Regions from separate parts of the Homo sapiens genome. Here all the other regions are linked to region 4. The links are contacts of gene promoters, found by promoter capture Hi-C in human tissues and cell types (Jung and others, 2019). All regions are on one chromosome and are shown on one strand. The core of a region is centred on a gene start or on the middle of the fragment in contact, and the rest is flanking DNA. Distances in the headings are between cores, read along the strand shown. Region 1 has its middle 10 kb from the start of LINC01659. Region 2 has its middle 14 kb from the start of LINC01659. Region 3 has its middle 19 kb from the start of MIR650. Region 4 holds the start of RAB36 (RAB36, member RAS oncogene family). Region 5 overlaps LOC105372948 (a long non-coding RNA gene).

Region 1 (2,790 bases), core at 131-2,630, 300 kb after region 4:
GAACCACCTGCCTCGGCCTCCCAAAGTGCTGGGATTACAGGCGTGAGCCACTGCATCTGGTCACATTTCTTGAAATTTGTTTTAAGGTCCATCCAGAATGTTACTGCCTTGGTAAATGTTGTGTGTGTACTTAAAATCTGTGTGTATCCTGTATCCCACTGGAATGTGCTATATTGATGTCAAGTAGCTGACATTTTTAATAATGTTTGCAAAGCTTCTATATCCTTGCCAATTTTCTGTCTTCCTGTTCTATCAGTTATTGATAGATGAATATTGACATCTCTGACTATAATTACAGATTTCTCTATTCCTTCTTGCATTCCAGTTTTTGTTTCATATATAAATGGACGCTTTTATCATTATGAAATGACCTTTATTGCTAGTAATATTCTTTGCTCTGAAATCTACTTTGTCTGATACAGAGCTGCACTGTCAATAAGCAACCTTGGGTATATCGCGCATTTGGTTCCAGATCACTGTGATTAAACCAATATCACAATAAAGCAAGTCCCATGCATTTTGTTTCCCAGTGCATATAAAAGTTATGTTTATCCTATACTATAGTCTGTCAAGTGTACAATAGCATTATGTCTTTAAAAAACAATGTACATGTCCTGATTTTAAAAATACTTTATTGCTTAAAAATGCTAACGATCACCCAAACCTTTAGCCAGTTGTAATCTCTTTGCTGGTGGAGGTTCTTGCTTTGATGGTGATGGCTGCTGACAGATCAGGGTGGTGGTTGCTGAAGGTTGGGGTGGCTGTGACAGTTTCTTAAAAACACCAATGGGCTGGGTGCTGTGGCTCAAGCCTGTAATCCCAGCACTTTGGGAGGCTGAGGCAAATGGATCACTTGAGGCCAGTAGTTCGAGACCACCCTGGCCAACATGGTGAAAACCTGTCTCTACTACAAACACAAAAATTAGCCGGGCATGGTGGCACGTACCTGTAATCCCAGCTACTTGGGAGGCTGAGGCACGAGAATCGCTTGAACCTGGGAGGTGGAGGTTGCAGTGAGCTGAGATCGTGCCACTGCACTCCAGCCTGGGCAACAGAGCACGACTCCATCCCCCCACCAAAAAAAAAAAAAAAAAAAAAACAGCAATGAAGCTGGCCACATTGATTGACTCTTCCTTTCATGAAAGATTTCTCTGTAGCATGCAATGCTCTCTAAAACCATTTTACCTACAGTAGAACTTCTTTCTATCTTGGAGCCAATCCTCTCAACCCCTCAAACTGCTTTATCAACTAAGTTGATGTACTTTGCTGTCATTTTTCAACAATGTTCACAGCATTTTCACCAGGAGCAGATTCCATCTCAAGAAACCACTTTCTTTGTTCATTCATAAGAAGCAGCTCCTCATCCATTCAAGCTTGATCATGAGATTGCAGCAATTTAGTCACATCTTCAGGCTCTGCTTCTAATTCTAATTCTCTTGCTATTTTCACCACATCTGTCCATCTTCCTCCACTGACCTCTTCTTGAACCAAGTCATCCAGGAGGGTTGGAACCAACTTCTGCAAACTCCTGTTAATGGTGATACTTTGACCTCCTCTCATAAATCACTGATGTTCTTAATGGCATCTAGAATGACAGCTCCTTTCCGGAAGGTTTTCAGTTGTCTTTGCCCAGATTCATTAGAGGAAGCACTCTGTGACAACTATAGCCTTACAAAATGTATTTCTTAAATAATAACACTTGAAAGTCAATTGTCCCTTGATCTAGGGACCACAGGATGGATGCTGTGTTAGCAGTCATAGAAACAACGTTCATCTCCATCAGAGCCCAGTAACTAGTTGCATTGTCAGTGAGCAATAATATTTTGAAAGGAATTTTGTTTTCTGAGCAGGAGGTCTCAACAGTGGGCTTAAAATATTCAGTGCACTGTGCTACGTTTGAACAGATGTGCTGTCATCCAGGCTTCGTTGTTCCACTGATAGAGCACAGACAGAGAAGACTTAGCATCATTCTTAAGGGCCCCAAGAGCTCATTTACCATCTCCATATTAGCAGTAAGCCTGTTCTGCTTTCTTAACATTCATGTGTTCGCTGGAATAGCCCTTGTGATTTCCTTTACGAACTTCTCCTTTGCAGGCTAGCTGTGTGGTGCAAGAGACCTAGCTTTTGGCCTCAGTTTTCAACATGCCTTCCTCACTAAACTTAATTATCTCTAGCTTTTGATTTAAAGTGAGAGACATGTGAGTCTTCTTTCACTTGAACACCTAGAAGCCATTCTAGGGTTATTAATGGGCCTGGTTTCAATATTGTTGTGATGGTCGTGTCTCAGGGAATGGGGAGGCCTAAGGAGAAGGAGAGAGATGGGGGATGGCTGGTCAGTGGAGCAGTCAGAACACACACATTTATCAGTTAAGTTTGCTATCTTATGGGCACTGTTTGTGGAGCTCCGAGACCATTACAATGGTGACATCAAAGATCACAGATGACAGACTACCATAAAAGATATACTAATAATGAAAAAGTTGGAAATATATATGACACAGACATGAAGTGAATCCACGCTTTTGGAAAAATAGTGCCAATAGACTTGCCAGACACAGACCTTAAATTTGTAAAAAATGCAGTGTCTGTGAGGCACAGTCAGGCAACGGATGAAGCAAGGTGTGCTCATGTGAACACGGCGAAATGTGAGCACACTGTATCTGCTTCACGTTACTTTTAATCTACTGCGTCTTCATAGTTAAAATGTGCTTCTTAAAAGCAGGATATAGCTGAGTCTTAAATGTGCATAAAATCTGACATTCTCTGCCTTTTCACTGGGCCATTTACATT
Region 2 (2,756 bases), core at 128-2,627, 270 kb after region 4:
ACACTGTACCCTGACATCCATTCGACCAGGAGAATAAACAAGAAAAGCCCTCAAGGACATGCCTTTGCTCATGCTGTTCTCTGCCTGTCAGGAAGCCCTTCCTGCCTTCCACCGCTAAGCCTGCCGCTGCTTACCTTGCCCTTGCAGTCAGGGCAAGGCTCTGGGAATGCTCCCGGCTCCCTCTGCTCTGCTCCCACAGCTCCCTATACTTACCCTCATCACAGCTCTTACCACACAGCACTGAAATCATCTATTTGTGCGTCTGTCTCGCCAGCTGCAGCAAGATCCCAGAGGGCAAGGAACACATCTTACTTATCTCCCATCACCCATACAGAACCCAGTACAACAGCTCATCAACACTGAACGCAACCCCAGCCTGGCCAGGCTGGCCTCCTTGCTGCCCCTGAATACATGCTGCTCACGCTCAACTCTGAGCCTGCGCTCACCCCAGCACCCCCACATCTCACTTAAGACAATCCGACCATGGCCTGGGCACAGTTCAAATTGCATTTCCTCCCTAGGCCCACAGAAGTCAATAGGGTCGCAGGTTCAAACCCCCAGCTCCTCTCACCCATGTGCCGAGTGCCCTTGCACAAGATGCTTCTGTCTCTGGGTTCTCATCGTAAAGAGGGAATGACTCAGTATCCCCTAACTTGCAGGGCTGACAACGCATATAAAGCTTCTGAACCGACACTTGGCATATAATAGATTTTTAAGAACAGCACACTTGTTTTCCCCAATCACACTGTCTATGCCATCTGGGTGTTTCATCCCTTTTCTTCCCCGTAACTGTTGTGTATATTACCCTGGCTCTCCTGAGGCAGGTTTGTCATGAGCAGAGACACGGTCGTAGTATACTTCCATGAAGCCGCCCCTGCCCTAAAACCCAGGACAACACAACACGTGGAGGAAGGGACCAAAGGATACAACTTTAATAAATAAGTTATTTCAGGTTATTTAGGTTTAAAGAATTGCTAATAAAAAAAAATGCAAAGCCCCAGGGGATCAGGAGTGAGCTAGAGAGCAGGCTTTTGCAGATGTTTTCATACTGATGACAAAGGCAGTTAGAGAGCGGGAGCAAGTGGGTTGAGGAGGGGACCAGCAAGATAGGAAAGAACTCCCCCTTGGAGGTGGTACTGTTCATTCTCACCCATCCAAACACTGCAAAGAAACCTGTGCTGACTCACTGGACAGTCTGGACCCAGCATCCTCCCCTGAAGACTGTCTCTGGATGACAGGAAGCCCCAAGCCTCAGAATTCCATTCCAAGTTTCATGAGCACTAGTCAGTGACAGTACCAGCTGATGTGTGGGGTGCTCACTGGGTGCTTACCACATGCCTGGGAAGATTCTAAATGCTTACGACCATACAAGGTTAGGAGGACTGTTACGCCCTTCATTGCACAGATGAGGAAACTGAGTCTCGGGGGGGATAAGGAACACACTCCCGGTCACACACTCTAGTAACCGGTATAGTACAGCACAGTCTGGTTCCAGAGTCCAAGCTCTTAACCACAACGCAGTTTGAGTGTCTTACTCTGATTTAGCTCCGCCATTTACCAGGTGAGAGATCTCAGGCAAGTCATCTAACCTCACTGCGCCTCATCTTTCAAGTGGGCCTCATATGGGTAACTTTCTAAGACTGTCATGAGGATTGAAGGCAATCATGCCATGACACATATTATGAAGCGGACTCCTGAGAAATCAGTTCCCTCCCACTTTTCCCATATCCCAATATAAGTGAGGTTTTTAGCCAAACCCCTTGACCTCTTTTACTACTAGGAATGATCTACATGCCCTGCTGGATTTTCCTGCCTACTGCCTATGCCTAAGCATTTGGACCTCATAAAAACTTACAAAAATGGCCTGGAGACAAGCAAGAAAGGAAAGCAACTGCACACAGAACTGAGTGGGGCAGCACACCAGAGATGGCCCAGACGGCTCCTGGTGTGCAGATGAATACTGCATGAGCAGAGGTCGGGCCAGCCAGGCCCTGCCAGGACACGCCACAACTGACAGTCCGTGACAGCACCTAGATCCATGTACTGCACCAACAGGCCCAGATGACAGGCCTAGGAGGCTGTAGGCAGAGCCAGGAGCACCTGTGCCTCTGAGCCCGCATGAGTATAAGTGCTGTAGGGGGACAAAGAGGGGCAGGCAGGTTAATGTGACAGGCAGTCATTCCCACCAATGGTGGGATATCAGACTGCCTAAAATGTTGTCTATAGCAAGGTAACTGTTTAAATTCCTATAGAAGGAATTCTGTTGCAAAATTCCTTTACTGTGAAGAATTTAATTTCAAGCCAAGAAGTACAGATACACACTAGTTTATCTTGAAGGTAAATCCACATTTCCATACATCAAGTTTGCTTGAAGGGTAAGAGATACCTTTAAGCCATGAACCCTTCCCCTGGGCTGGTGGTCATGCACAGAGGGAACCTGTCACTAGCAGCATGTAAAAGTGTCCTTCGGGGCCAGGTGCAGTGGCTCACACCTGTAATCCCAGCACTTTGGGAGGTTGAGGTGGGCAGATCACAAGGTCAGGAGTTCGAGGCCAGCCTGGCCAACACAGTGAAACCCCGTCTCTACTGAAAATACAAAAAATTAGCCGGGCATGGTGGTGCGTGCCTGTAGTCCCAGGTACTTGGGAGGCTGAGGCAGAAGAATTGCTTGAACCTGGCAGGTGGAGGTTGCAGTGAGCCGAGATCTAGCCACTGGACTCCAGCCTGGGCGACAGAGCGAGACACCGTCTCAAAAA
Region 3 (2,700 bases), core at 148-2,647, 340 kb before region 4:
AGTGATACATGGAGGATGGCATTCCTCCTGTGGACAGCAGGAGGCACTGTGGGTGTATTGTTTGGGGATGCTAATAGCTCCAAGTCCCCCAGTAGAGCTCACGTGCAAAGGGTGTGACTGATGTTTCCTTTCAGGTCCAGTCTTTTTGAGTACAATCCACTCTCCACTCCTGACACCCACTTGGCCCTTCTCCTGCCTTTGAGAAATGACTACCCTGAGGCCATCAGCTCCAGGGCTCAGCTATGAGCTCAGACAGACACGCTTGGGAATAGAGAACAGATTTGGATTCAATGCTCCTTCCTTCTTGAGCTTCAAGAAGAGGATAAGATAGGAGCTGGTTGTGTCCAGGCTCCACTGGGCAGCCTCGATCAGAGCTCTCGGAAGTGCCTCCCACCACGGCCTGTGTCTCCTTCTACCTCCTGCCCTTCATATTCTCCACAGGTTGGAGCATCCAGAGAATTCAGGGAAACCCTTTCACTGCTATTTCCCCCCAGCACTGGTCCTCAGTGGCATTCTTTCCAGTTCTCCTGTGCATTCAGCATCATTCATGAAATTATATGTTTCCAGGTCTCTGTGCTCTGTCTGTGCTGACCCAGCCCCCGTCTGCATCTGCCTGGCTGTGAGCCTCAGCCAAGGTCACCTACACCAGTGAATAGTATCAACAGAGACCAAGGAGGTCCCCCTAGTGTATAATGGAGGTTAAGAGTAATGGCAGCAACAGCAAGGGGAACAGGATCCCCAGTCACTTATTGGGCTCCAGCCCTGGGGCTGAATGCTACTTAATTATCTTCAACCTCCAATCTGAGGATGAGGCCGAGTATCACTGTGGAGAGAGCCACATGTTTGATGGTGAGGATGGGTGAGCCACAGTGACACAGACCAAGAAGTGAGGCCAAAACATACCCCCTCCCCTTCCTCTTCAAGGACTGAGAGTGAGAAGCCCTATGTCATCTCCATTGACCCTGAGAATGTTGACTCTCCCCCTTTCAAATTTCATCATCCCAGATGTCCTCCCTCAAGACACCCTTAGGCAGAGGCAGATGCAGGCCATGATTGAGGCCATTTTGATAAGTCATCAATCTGTTTCCACCACACCAGCCTGTGGGGACTACACTGGGAGAGACCAGAACAGCCCAGGCAGGAAAACGGCCCTGAGAGAGGGGTCGGGCTGAGATGACTGCATCCAGTGAGTGCCATTGCACCCTGCACCCCTGCCTCAGGGGACTGTCATGGGGCTCTGCCTGAGGAGGCAACATGGATCTTGACATGTCCCCAGCCATTTATGAGAACTGTAGTTGTGTGCATCCTCATTAACACTCAATATTATTGTCAGTTTTTGTTTAAAGCCACTCTAATAGATCTGTAGCGATTCTTATTAATTTTTTAACTTGTATTTTCTTAGCAACATCAGGCTGAGCATCTTTTCAGGTGCTTGTTATCTGTATATCTTCTTTGGTGAAAAGCTTAATCAAATCTTGGTCTATTTTTAAAATTCACTTTTCCCCATATTCCCCTTCATGCAGTATTTTTCAAAAATGGTGAATAAATGAAAGTTTTGCTGACATTTAAAAACTCACAGAATTGTTCACCACCAGACTGTTGCTATTAGAAGGGTAAAGGATATCCCTAGACAGAAGGAAAGTGATGTCACATTGAAATGTGAATTTACACAAAAAAGTGAAAACATCAGGCTGGGCCCAGTGGCTCATGTCTGTAATTTCAGCACTTTGGGAGACTGAGGCAGGAGTATTGCTTGAGCACAGGAGTTTGAGGCTGATGTGAGGTATGATCATACCACTGCAGTCCAGCCTGGGCAACATATTAAGAATCTGTCTCTATTAAAAAAAAAAAAAGGAAATAAAAAAATTAAATATCAGGTACAGTAACTACATAGATACTTGTGAAAACCTCTGTATTATGTTAATGCCAATAAAATACAGTTCACTGATCAAAGATAAATTAATAAAATACATTGTGATTTATAATGAAAATAAAGGCAAATTATATGACAAAGACAGCACAAAATCTGTGGTGGGTGAAGAACATGTTATCAAGGTCTCATATGGGAATGTGTAACAACTGCAGGTAGATTTTCATAAGATCTCTATATACATAAACCTTAAAGTAGTCATTAAATCAAACCTTTTGATCAAAAAAGAATTAGAGCGAATAAGCTACATTAGGGTTATCCACAGAAACAAAATTGGTAAGATATATATGTGTGTATAACATACATATGTGTATATACACATGCATGTATGTGAGCATATCGAGAGAGAGAGAGAAACTTAAAAGAAGAAATTGGTTCATAGGATTGTCCTGTCTGACAAGGATAAAAATCTCTTGGGCAGGCTGAAGGCTGGAAATGCAGGTAAGAGTTGATGTTGCGTCCTGAGCCTGAATTCAGCAATACAGGACTTAAGAAATCCTCACTCTTTGCTCTAAACACCTAAACACTTTCTTTTTTTTTTTTTTTTTTTTTGTGAGACAGAGTCTCACTCTGTCACCCAGGCTGGGTTACAGTGGTGTGATCTCAGCTCACTGCAATCGCCACCTCCCAGCTTCAAGTGATTCTTGTGCCTCATCCTCCCAGGTAGCTGGGATTACAGGTGTGCACCATCACATCCACCTAATTTTTGTATTTTTAGTAGAGACCGGCTTTCTCCATGATGACCAGGCTGGTCTCGAACTCCTGGCCTC
Region 4 (2,797 bases), core at 243-2,742:
TCGGGAGGCTGAGGCAGGAGAATCGCTTGAGCCGGGAGGCGGAGATTGCAGTGAGCCGAGATCACACTACTGCACTCCAGCCTGGGCGACAGAGTGAGACTCCATCTCAAAAAAAAAAAAAAAAAAAAAAAAAAAACAGCTAAAGGAGGAGTTCAGGGTGATCTCTAGCTCCTGCCAAATCCCCAAATCCAAATTAGTAAGTGACCCCACAGCTTAATCTTCCCTTCTCCTAAATCCCATTGGCACACTCCCTTCCCCTAATTCTCTATTTACTTCTCTGCTTCCCGCAGTGGACTCCAATTTCCCTGAGGGTGGACACCATGTCCGTTCTCTTTCCTTGTCTCCCCAGTGCTAGGCATATACCAGGAAGCTTTCAGTACATGTAGGACAAATGAATAGTTAATGGACTTGAATCAAGCTTTACAGTATAAAAGCACTTTCACCATCTCAGGTGATCCATTGAAATAGATAGTTGCGTTTATTTTATAGTTGAGTAAACTGAGGTGCGGAAGGTGGAACAACTCACCTAAGTTCACCCCCTAAGCCTCAACCTTAGCAGTGAAACTCACTAAAAGACATTAAACAGAGCCAGGTGTGGTGGCCCTTGCCTGTAGTCCCAAGGACTGGGGAGGCTGAGGCGGGAGGATTCCTTGAGCCTAGGAGTTCGAGTCCAGCCTGGACAACATAGCAAGACTCCATCTCTTTAAAAAAAAAAAAAAAAGACATCAAACACCAGCCTCCAGCACACTTAGCTTTGAATTGAAGATGACTGAGTTAGATCTGTGTACCAAGGCTTCCATATTGTGATGCAGAAAAGTTAAGGAGCTGAATTAAGTAGGTTCTCAAACTGAACCCCGGACTTCGAAGCTGGTTCCACGGTTTTATAAGGGCCACAAGAGGCCATCTAGCCCAAAACAGCTAACTTTCCAAACCGAAACTAGTTCAGAGGAAATCACTGACTCAGGTCAGCTTTTTATTAAGGAAATTAATTTTGTACCGTGAGCTCTAGAAGCCAGGCATATGATATTCAGACAGCACTGGATTCAGAACTATGCAGACTAAGGTCAGTAGATGGTAGGCAGGTCTATCTTCTGCAGCTGCAGGGTGCTTGACTCCAATTAAACATCAATACCACATCAGGAGCTCTTATGCCATAACCGCCCAACCTCTCCCAGCCGAGCTGATCACCAGAACCTGCGCGAATCTCTCCACGGTCAGCCCCACCCAGGGCTCAGGCTCCGCCCCCGGGCCTCCATAGCCCCGCCCACCGCCCACCCATCCAGCACCGCCCTTGTTGTCATGGTGATCTCCGGCTCTCCAGGGTGTCCAGGAGTCTCTCTGCTGCCAGCCCCGCCCAGACTCCAGGCAGGTTCTCGTTGCTATGGTGATCGCCGGTGCAAGCTGGATGCTTGGACGCGCCGCTGCCAGTCCAACGCAGACCCCGCCCACGACGTCGACGATTCGTGTAGCCCGCAGGTCCCGCGTGGCTCTCGTTGCCATGGTGATCGCCGCCGCTGGCTCAGGCGGACCAGGCCGCGCGGAGCCCCAGCTTTCACAGCCATCGCTGGTGAGTCAGCTCGCCCACTCTGTCCGACCCTCCCGGTCACCCAACCCCGTGCTGGCACATCCCGAGGCCAGGGCCGCGAGGGCACAGCGTCCGCGCCCACTTCCCGCCCCTATAACTTGAAAGCGGCCTGCGGCCCCGGGGCGTCCTCATTTCCGGAGCGCAAACTCTGGGCCAGGCCCGCGCTGGTTGTGGAGGAGAGCCAGGTCAGATGCGGGAAGACAACCGGACTCCGCCAGGACCACCCCAGCCCAGCCTGGAGAGGAGTCCGGACAGAAAAAGGAGACAGAGGGGCTGTTGAGGAGGCTCGAGGAGTCAGAGGCCTGGTGAAGTGAGGGTTTTCAGGGAAAAGGCCTAGTTGGCTGAAAGTTAAGGCCCCCAGGCCCACCTAGAGCCTTCGTCCTTTGCAGACTGGGAGCAGGAGACCCCTCCCCACTCTACTTCCACTGCCTGAGCTGTGCCATGCCTCACAGCCCAGTAAGGTAAGCTCAGAGGGGAGCTCCTCCTTGGTAGACACCTGTCAAGGGGAGACCCAGGTCTTCTGACTCCCAGGCAGGGTGGGGCAGGCCTGGTTCCCCCATACCATGCTGCCTGCTGTATGCAGATTGAGAGAAATGGCCTCTGCCCCATATTCCTGACAGAGAGGGAAGCCTGGATCTGGTTTTATTTATAATTCTTGAGACAAGGTCTTACTCTATCACCCAGGCTGGAGTGCAGTGGCACCTTCACGGTTCACTGCACCCTTGACCTCCCAGGCTCAAGCATTCCTCCCACCTTCCTCCCAAGTAGCTGGGACTGCAGGCACAGGCCACCATGCCCTGCTAATTTTTTTGGTTTTTTTTTGTAGAGACTGAGGTTTCACTTTGTTGCCCAGGCTGGTCTCAACCTCCTGGGCCCAAGTGATCCTCCCACCTTGGCCTCCCAAAGTGCTGGGATTACAGGCATGAGCCACTGCACCCAGCCTGGATCTGATGAAAAGTTAGGTGGAAACTCATGGGTGAATCCCCAGGTATTTGCACAGCTCCTTAACTGTCTTTCTCCTGGTTGGGTCCACAGGACTGTGGAAGAATGAGGTCCTCCCTGACACCTTTGGGGCCCCCTGTGAGCCGCGACCGTGTCATCGCCAGCTTCCCTAAGGTAGAGAGTCATTACGTCTGCAGTGCTCTCCTGGCCCTGCAGCCACATCAGCTCTCCCCACTCTACACTCATGCCTAGAAGTAAAGCAGGTGAATC
Region 5 (2,700 bases), core at 195-2,694, 270 kb before region 4:
TGAAGGCTGGAAATTCAAGTAAGAGTTGATGTTGCAGTCCTGCATCCAAATTTAGCAAGGCAGCACTTCAGGAAACCTCCACATTTGTTCTAAAAACATTCAGCTCACTAAAGAGTCCCACCCACATTGTGAAGAGAAATCTGCTTATACAAAGTTTACTAATTAAAATGTTCATCACATCTGAAAGTTATCTTCATGTCAACTCCTATACTGGTATTTGATAAAATCAATCTGGTGCATAGCCTACCCAATCTAACACTTAAAATTAACTATCACTTAACCCAGCAAGGAAATAAAAAGATAATTTAAAAAATCAATCAAAAAAGGAGACAGCAAAAGGGAAAGAAAACTAACGAACATATGGGACAAATATAAAATAAAGAGCAAGAAGATCCTTCCAGCTCAGCCTACTGAGTTTCTGGGACTACAGGAAGGTTTGTAGTTCTCCTTGAAGAGGTCCTTCACATCCCTTGTAAGTTAGATTCCTAGGTATTTTATTCTCTTTGAAGCAGTTGTGAATGAGAGTTCACTCATGATTTGGCTCTTTGTCTGTCTGTTGTTGGTGTATAAGAATGCTTGTGATTTTTGTACATTGATGTTGTATCCTGAGATTTTGCTGAAGTTGCTTATCAGCTTAAGGAGATTTTGGGCTGAGACAATGGGGTTTTCTAGATATACAATCATGTTGTCTGCAAACAGGGACAATTTGACTTCCTCTTTTTCTAACTGAATACCCTTTATTTCTTTCTCCTGCCTGATTGCCCTGGCCAGAACTTCCAACACTATATTGAATAGGAGTGGTGAGAGAGGGCATCCCTGTCTTGTGTCAGTTTTCAAAGGGAATGCTTCCAGTTTTTGCCCATTCAGTATGATATTGGCTGTGGGTTTGTCGTAGATAGCTCTTATTATTTTGAGATACGTCCCATCAATACCTAATTTATTGAGAGTTTTTAGCATGAAGTGTTGTTGAATTTTGTCAAAGGCCTTTTCTGCATCTATTGCGATAATCATGTGGTTTTTGTCTTTGGTTCTGTTTATATGCTGGCCACTTCTCAAAAGAAGACATTTATGCAGCCAAAAAACACATGAAAAAATGCTCACCATCACTGGCCAACAGAGAAATGCAAATCAAAGCCACAATGAGATACCATCTCACACCAGTTAGAATGGCGATCATTAAAAAGTCAGGAAACAACAGGTGCTGGACAGGATGTGGAGAAATAGGAACACTTTTACACTGTTGGTGGGACTGTAAACTAGTTCAACCATTGTGGAAGTCAGTGTGGCGATTCCTCAGGGATCTAGAACTAAAAATACCATTTGACCCAGCCATCCCATTACTGGGTATATACCCAAACGACTATAAATCATGCTGCTGTAAAGACACATGCACATGTATGTTTATTGTGGCATTATTCACAATAGCAAAGACTTGGAACCAACCCAAATGTCCAACAATGATAGACTGGATTAAGAAAATGTGGCACATATACACCATGGAATACTATGCAGCCATAAAAAATGATGAGTTCATGTCCTTTGTAGGGACATGGATGAAATTGGAAATCATCATTCTCAGTAAACTATCGCAAGAACAAAAAACCAAACACCGCATATTCTCACTCATAGGTGGGAATTGAACAATGAGAACACATGGACACAGGAAGGGGAACATCACACTCTGGGGACTGTTGTGGGGTGGGGGGAGGGGCGAGGGATAGCATTGGGAGATATATCTAATGCTAGATGACGAGTTAGTGGGTGCAGCGCACCAGCATGGCACATGTATACATATGTAACTAACCTGCACATTGTGCACATGTACCCTAAAACTTAAAGTATAATAATAATAAATTAAAAAAAAAAAAGAAAAGAAAATGTCTCTAGACAGCTTGGTTCCTGAGCTGGGAATCAACCGTCTTTTCTCTCCCTTTCAACCCAGAGTGTGGCAGGCGCGCCCCCTACAGGCAGCTAAAAGAGCTGACTGAGATGCCGTCTCCATAGGGAGGGATTTGGGCTGAGAATTTGGGCTGAGGATTTTCCCATGCCCTCCCTGGCAGGCTGGTCCCAGGACACTCAGAAGACTTACTGTTACAGGTCCAGAGCATTTCTCGTCTTCCTTTTCTCTCTCCTTGCCAAGTGACCTTGGAATTGTTCCTCCCCATCTCAGCCCCTTCCCTTTTGTGTTAAGTGCAGTTTGCAGATTTTGTGTTCCTAGGTCCTGTATCTGTAGAATTTTAGGGAAAGCAGTGCTGGTCACCCACATGGAATTCAAGACAGCGAGCCCAGGACCAGAAACACAGACAGCAGTGGGGGTCCCCACAGAGCAGCATGGTGGGCACCAGGTGGAGGTAAGAAACCAGGAACCACTCCCCTGAGTGTCTTCAGCCCCAGGTGAACTAGGGAGGGGTCAGTGGGCTGGGCTCAACCCACCGGGGACTCTCCTGTCACTGCCCCAGCAGCACCATCCTGGAAGCCCCTATATGTGCTAAGCAGCTGCCAAAGAACTTGATTAATTACCTGTAAATTTCCCTTCACCACACCTGACCACACATGACTCCTGCCCCCAAATTACTAATTTATTAAAATGGCACAATTAGCCGAAATGGCCTGAATCCAGGACCCCTTTCAGGTTTGCCGCTGACCTCTCAGGTCCTCACACATGCCAGACTCTTTCCACAGGGGCCTGACTCCACTGTT

The links. The method cuts DNA at HindIII sites, captures the fragments that hold promoters and counts their contacts. A contact is called where the count stands out against the background at its distance.
Region 1: a contact is called between a fragment that was not itself captured here and the fragment with the promoter of RAB36 in region 4, in 5 of the 25 tissues and cell types used here (adrenal gland, dorsolateral prefrontal cortex, lymphoblastoid cells and 2 more).
Region 2: a contact is called between a fragment that was not itself captured here and the fragment with the promoter of RAB36 in region 4, in 1 of the 25 tissues and cell types used here (lymphoblastoid cells).
Region 3: a contact is called between a fragment that was not itself captured here and the fragment with the promoter of RAB36 in region 4, in 2 of the 25 tissues and cell types used here (dorsolateral prefrontal cortex and lymphoblastoid cells).
Region 5: a contact is called between a fragment that was not itself captured here and the fragment with the promoter of RAB36 in region 4, in 3 of the 25 tissues and cell types used here (aorta, esophagus and thymus).

Annotation. Positions count from the first base shown.
Region 1 is chr22:23,442,536-23,445,325 of GRCh38, forward strand. No RefSeq gene overlaps it. Among named protein-coding and RNA genes, the nearest start is that of LINC01659, 10 kb to the left of the region's middle. The HindIII fragment of the contact is 6,266 bases long and covers 1-2,790 here.
Region 2 is chr22:23,418,129-23,420,884 of GRCh38, forward strand. No RefSeq gene overlaps it. Among named protein-coding and RNA genes, the nearest start is that of LINC01659, 14 kb to the right of the region's middle. The HindIII fragment of the contact is 3,489 bases long and covers 1-2,756 here.
Region 3 is chr22:22,802,498-22,805,197 of GRCh38, forward strand. It overlaps IGL. Among named protein-coding and RNA genes, the nearest start is that of MIR650, 19 kb to the right of the region's middle. The HindIII fragment of the contact is 4,576 bases long and covers 1-2,700 here.
Region 4 is chr22:23,143,985-23,146,781 of GRCh38, forward strand. It overlaps RAB36 (RAB36, member RAS oncogene family), which reads left to right and starts at 1,493. Exons shown (of 11, transcript NM_004914.5): 1 at 1,493-1,567; 2 at 2,621-2,701. The coding sequence starts at 2,633. It also overlaps a transcript of RSPH14 not described here. RefSeq lists a silencer at 1,246-1,315. The HindIII fragment of the contact is 15,551 bases long and covers 1-2,797 here.
Region 5 is chr22:22,875,653-22,878,352 of GRCh38, forward strand. All of the region lies in intron 2 of LOC105372948 (a long non-coding RNA gene), which reads right to left. LOC102724638 (a long non-coding RNA gene) reads right to left here. Exons shown (of 5, transcript XR_938046.4): 5 at 1,844-2,227. It also overlaps IGL. Among named protein-coding and RNA genes, the nearest start is that of MIR5571, 9.3 kb to the right of the region's middle. The HindIII fragment of the contact is 7,203 bases long and covers 1-2,700 here.